Regions from separate parts of the Homo sapiens genome. Here region 1 is linked to region 2. The links are contacts of gene promoters, found by promoter capture Hi-C in blood cells and fetal thymus (Javierre and others, 2016). All regions are on one chromosome and are shown on one strand. The core of a region is centred on a gene start or on the middle of the fragment in contact, and the rest is flanking DNA. Distances in the headings are between cores, read along the strand shown.

Region 1 (2,700 bases), core at 196-2,695, 60 kb before region 2:
TTCCACCGGGTCAGCGGGATGATCCGGCGCAAGCTCACGGTGTGTCTCCTGGTGGTAGAGGGGCTTGTGTCAACCTGTGGCCGGGTGGGGATGCTCCTTCCCAGCTGGTAGGCTGCCCCCAGGCTCCATGCCCTGCCCTGGCCTGGACACTCACGCTTTGCCTTCTTCATCAATGTCATCTACCTCATACCTGTGGACAAAAGGAGGAAAATGCAGGATGCAGCCAGGGGCACAGTCCCTGTAGGGGAGTGTGGAGGACAGGGGCAGGGCAAGGACCCGGTGCTCCCTGCACAGCCGGCCCCGCCCACAGCACGCTCTGTGGAGTTTTTCTCCTGCTGTGCAGATGAGAAGCAGAGTGGCAGCCCAGGCAGGTGCAGTGACCAGAGAGCAGCCCTGGGGCTGTTGGAGGAGCCCCTGGGAGCCTCCATCTCCCGAGTGAGCCCAGCAGGACTGTGACCCGTTCGGCCAGGTGTCCTACAGGGGCTGCTGGGCTCAGCTACAGATGGGCGAGACCGCAGCATAGTGGGCGCCCAGCGGGAAGAACCAGGGAGGGACAAAGTGAGTTTGCAGGTGGTGGAGAGGCTCTCTTCTTGATGTCGGTGCTGAACCAGAAGTGTGTTTAAGGAGAATTTCCTAAAATTCAAAGAGTTCCACGGGAGTCGCGGCTAGGCCGGGGCGCTTCTTCAGCATCTACCTGCTCTACGGCCTGAACCCCCGTCATCAGGGCCACGTTTATATGGGGTTCACTGTCAGCCCTGCTTGTCAGGTCCAGCAGCACAATGGGGGCCACACAAAAGGCAGGGCCCAGGCCTGGCGCGGTGGCTCAAGCCTGTAAACCCAACACATTGGGAGGCCAAAGCGGTTGGATCACTTGAGGTCAGGAGTTCGAGACCAGCCTGACCAACATGGTGAAACCCCGTCTGTAATAGAAATACAAAAATTAGTCGGGCATGGTGGCACGTGCCTGTAATTACAGCTACTCAAAAGGCTGAGGCGGGAGAATTGCTTGAAAGATGGGGCAGGGGGCAGCGGCAGAGGTTGCAGTGAGCCAAATCGGGCCATTGCACTCCTGGTGAGACCGGAAGGGTCTCTGTGCCAGGAGGAAGGCTTCCTGGAGGAGGCGGACCCCGCTGGGCACAAGCCTGATGAGAGGGAAGGGCATGCCTGTGACATGGGTGGGGAGTCCAGGGTGGGGACGGGACTGTCACAGAGGAGGAGCATGACGGGGAGACAGTGCCCTGGGAATCTTGGCGGTGGAACTCCGGGGAGGAGCTGGCTGGGGCGGAGGTGATGATCCAGGATGCGGGCCAGCGTAGGGGTCTTGGTGGGCATGCTGGGGTCGGATGGAGCGCAGGAGAGAGAAGAGGGGGGACAGGTGGGTACCTGGGCTGGAGGCGCGGCCTGAGGTGGGCAGGTGCAGGGGGCGTGACTTCATTTAGGGGCAGGGCCTGGGGCTAGGCTGAAGCCGGCAGTGAGGACCCCGCTCTCGGGTGGAATTGGAGGGGACCCGCGGTTGGGCGCGGCAGGGCTCACAGGGACACCCCCGTTCTCCTCCCCAGGGAGAAAGTGCTCGTCGTGCACGGCTTCCCGCCCGCCGTGGCAACCCTTCGGGTAAGGAAGGAGACCAGGCGGCGGCAGGCGGGCAAGGGCTTGGGGTCCGCCCCCCTGCCTGGAGCCGCCCTAACTCCTCCGTATCCTGCCGCTGTTGGAGTGGGCCTGGAACCCCCTCCATAGGCGCGCCTCCTACTCCCGCTGCACCCCGACCTCCGCCGGGACCTCTATGCGCCGCGCCGCACGGGCGATGGCCTTCGGGCCTCCCCGGCCCCAGGGCACCGCGCAGGTCCCTTTGCTGGCACCAAGCCCGAGCCTGAGCCGGACCCGGGGCCCAAGAGGCCTGTGCGCCCTGCGAGCCCTTGAGCTCCAGGGGAGGTCCGCCCCAGGCAGGGCGGCTCATCCCCCAGACCACTTCGGATCCAGCTGTTTGTTGAGGAGCCAGGAAACGCCCTGACACTTTTGCGGCCCTGTCCCCGTCTCTAAGATGGGGATGATAGTATTTCTGGCCATTCCTGAGCACAGCAGGACCTGCCTTTTCCCTTTGACTGGAAGGTTCTTCTCTACACCTATCTTGATAACCTGCCACCTCCACAGGGAGGTCTTCTCTATCTCCCGATTTAAAATTGCAGCTCTGAGAAGCCGGGCATGGTGGCATATGCCTGTAGTCCCAGCTACGGGGGGAGGCTGAGGTGGGAGGATCGCTTGGTCCCAGGAGTTGGAGGCTGCAGTGAGCTCTGATCGCTCCACTGCACTATAGCCTGGGCAAAAGAGCAAGAAACTGTCTCTAAAAATATAAAATAAAATTGCACCTCTTGTGTACTTCCCCGTCTGCTTCTTTACCTGAATACTTACTATCTCACCGGCTAGGTGCTTTATGACTCTCGTTAGTCTCTCCCACCCCAACCTTTGCACTACATTGCCCGAGGGCAGCTCTTGTCACTGCTGTAGAACAAAGTCCTGCACAGAGACGATAGCCAAGAAATAGTTAATAAAATAATGGAAAACGGGTGCCTTCTACTGAGCACCCGCTAATAGTGAGTGAGTAGAGGACTTGCCCTGGGGACATTCAGTGACCTGCTGGGTGTTGCTGAGCTGTGAGGAAGTTCAGGTCTGGCTGCAGTGGTGAGGCTGTGACTCAATCAATCA
Region 2 (2,700 bases), core at 68-2,567:
CCACCTCGGCCTCCCAAAGTGCTAGGATTACACGCATGAGCCACCGCGCCTGGCCAGTATTTACATTTAAAATGTGAAACTGGGATTGCGGTGGCTCATGCCTGTAATTCCAGCATTTGGGGAGGCTTTGGTTAGGAGGACTGCTTAAGCCCAAGAGTTTGAGGCTGCAGTGAGCTGTAATAACACCACTGTTCTCCAGTCTGAGCAACAGAGAACGTGTCTCTAATAAAAACAAAAATGTGAGATGATGCCTAGGTTAGAATCAGCAGAGGAGAAGCCAGAGAGAGCAGAGGCAAAGGAAGAGAACGTTCAGCAAGCCAAATGAAAACAGTGTTTCAAGGAGGGGCAGTGATCCACAGCATCAAATGCTGAACAGGACTGAGACCTAACTTAACAATGCATTTGGCCACCTAGAGATCACTGGTGGCTTTGACAAGAAGCCTTTTTAGTGGAGTGGTGGAGACCAAAGCCTGACTAGAGGCTCAAGGGTTCAAGACTTGGAGGAGAAAAGGCATTAGTGAGGGTAGACTAAGGCCTTTGGCTGCAAACCGGAGCCGAGGAGGAGGTAACTGGAGGATAGCGAGGGTGAAGGAGGCTGTTTTGTTGTTCTTAAGACGGGCATTTTTTGGCCGGGCGCGGGGGCTCACGCCTATACTCCCCACACTTTGGGAGGCCGAGGCGGGAGGTTGAGCCTCCTGGGCAAACGACGAGCTGTTAGTGTATCTTGTTAAGAACTATATATATATACAAAATTTTTGTGCAAATCATAAAATAAGTGCTGGAGTTCGGGGCCCATCCTCTGTCCGCATCTTCGTGACCCGGGTCCGAGTACCCCACCTGGAAGCTGCGTCCGTGCCGAGCCCAGCGTGTCGCTGTTTCCCACCCTCGCCGGGGATGGAAGCACGCAAGCGCAGACCTCGAGCGGCCGGGCGCAGGGCCCGCCCTCCCCGAGCCCCGGCCCCGCCCTCCTCTCCCGCCCCCACCCCCACGAGCCCCGCCCCCCTCCCGCCCAGAGCGCGTGCGCACCGCCCCTAGAGCGCCGCCTCAGGGAGGTCGGGAGCCGCGGCGCGGAGGGAGGACTCAGCCCTTCGCTCCCGCGTTTCGCCGGAGGTCTCAGGCCACGGCCCGTCGCCACCTACCGAGTCCGGGACAAAACAAGCTCGTCGGGCTGGAAACTGCGACGAGGGGAGCAGGCGCGTTCCTCGAACCCTTTTTCGGAGTCTGCGGATGATCACAGACCTGCGTTCGAAGATTGGCGGCACGTCGAGAACCGCACACGCTTTTTTTTCCTTTTATGAGCGTAGTCGCGCGCGGAGGACCTTGCACGCATGCGTAGTCGTTCCTCTGTGACGTGACCCGCTGCCCCGTGGGAAATGTAGTTTTCACTTGGCACACCGCTCCGGCTCTTGGCGGAACCCTAATTTAACCAACCAAAGTGCTTGTGCGTTTTCAGCGTTTTCTCCCATTTCCCCAGACTCTATTTAAAACAAAATGCAATAAATAAATAAATAAATAAAACTTGAAAGCGAACAGATTGCTGCTTGCTGGAGGTGGGTGGGCGCAGGGGTAATATGAAAACTGTACTTTCTGCTCAATTTTGTTGTGAACCTAAAAATGCCCTAAAAAATAAAAGTCTGTTGTTAAAAAATTAATTAAAAACAGGCCGGGCGCGGTGGCTCACGCCTGTAATCCCAACACTGGGACGCTAAGGCGGGCGGATCACCTGAGTTCAGGAGTTTGAAACCAACCCGGCCAACATGGTGAAACCCCGTCTCTACTAAAAAATACAAAAATCAGCCGGGCGTGGTGGCGGGTGCCTGTAATCCCAGGTACTGGGGAGGCTGAGGCTGGAGAATCGCTTGAATTCAGGAGGCGGAGGTTGTAGTGACTGGAGATTGTACCATTGCACTCCAGCCTGGGTGACAAGAGGGAAACTCCATCTCAAAAAAACAAACAAACAAAAAACAAGCAGATCTTTAGACCCAGAAATCGCACTTCTAGGGAATCTTCTCAGGAAAGTACTAAGGATATGGACGTGCAATGGACATGTAGCCTCAATGGTATTTTATCGAAAGCCATCCTGGTATCTTAAAGTTTCTTACATAACCTACAAATGTCTGTAATTATTTGTTGATTATTTGATAAACTTGCAAGTCCTATGAGATTGGGATCATCTTGTGTTCACCTGTGTATTCCTAGTACCTAGCACAGTGCCTGGCCATCACATGTTTCTTTTTTTTTCTCTTTGAGACAGGGTCTCGCTCTGTTGTCCAGGTTGGAGTGCAGTGGTGCCATCAGGGCTCCTGAGTAGCTAGGACTACAAGCACACACCAGCACATTCTGCTGATTTTTAAATTTTTTTTGGTAGAGATGGGGGTCTTGCTATGTTGCATAGGCTGGTCTTGAGTTCCTGGGCTCAAGCGATCCTCCTGCCTCAGCCTCCCAAAGTGCTGGGATTACAGGCATGAGCCACCAACCTCAGCCCCGTCAGTATTTTTCTGTTTATTAGAGAATCTCAGGCGTTAGCACTGAAACTATGTTAACCCCAAAATTAATGCATCATTTTCTTCCATCACACTTGCAGTTCTTTCTGTGGGCGTCAGGTCAGTGAATGACATGCCCATCCACCCAGCTGCAGTTCTACTTACTGCCTTTTATGAAGGTTATGCTTTGAGGGATTTTGCAAATTTTGCATTTGTA

What was found. Contacts are between HindIII fragments. The CHiCAGO score rates a contact against its expected background, and 5 or more counts as called.
Region 1: a contact is called between a fragment that was not itself captured here and the fragment with the promoter of SGF29 in region 2, in 2 of 17 cell types (M2 macrophages and M0 macrophages). The highest score is 6.6, in M2 macrophages.

Annotation. Positions count from the first base shown.
Region 1 is chr16:28,612,828-28,615,527 of GRCh38, reverse strand. It overlaps LOC107984835 (a long non-coding RNA gene), which reads right to left. Exons shown (of 2, transcript XR_007065036.1): 2 at 1-190. LOC124903674 (a long non-coding RNA gene) reads left to right here and starts at 997. Exons shown (of 2, transcript XR_007065047.1): 1 at 997-1,324; 2 at 1,560-2,700. It also overlaps a transcript of SULT1A1 not described here. RefSeq lists enhancers at 1-262, 1,251-1,800, 1,801-2,351, 2,599-2,700. The HindIII fragment of the contact is 7,854 bases long and covers 1-2,700 here.
Region 2 is chr16:28,552,537-28,555,236 of GRCh38, reverse strand. SGF29 (SAGA complex associated factor 29) reads right to left here and starts at 1,317. Exons shown (of 10, transcript NM_138414.3): 1 at 1,140-1,317. RefSeq lists a silencer at 889-1,008 and an enhancer at 1,029-1,348. The HindIII fragment of the contact is 18,994 bases long and covers 1-2,700 here.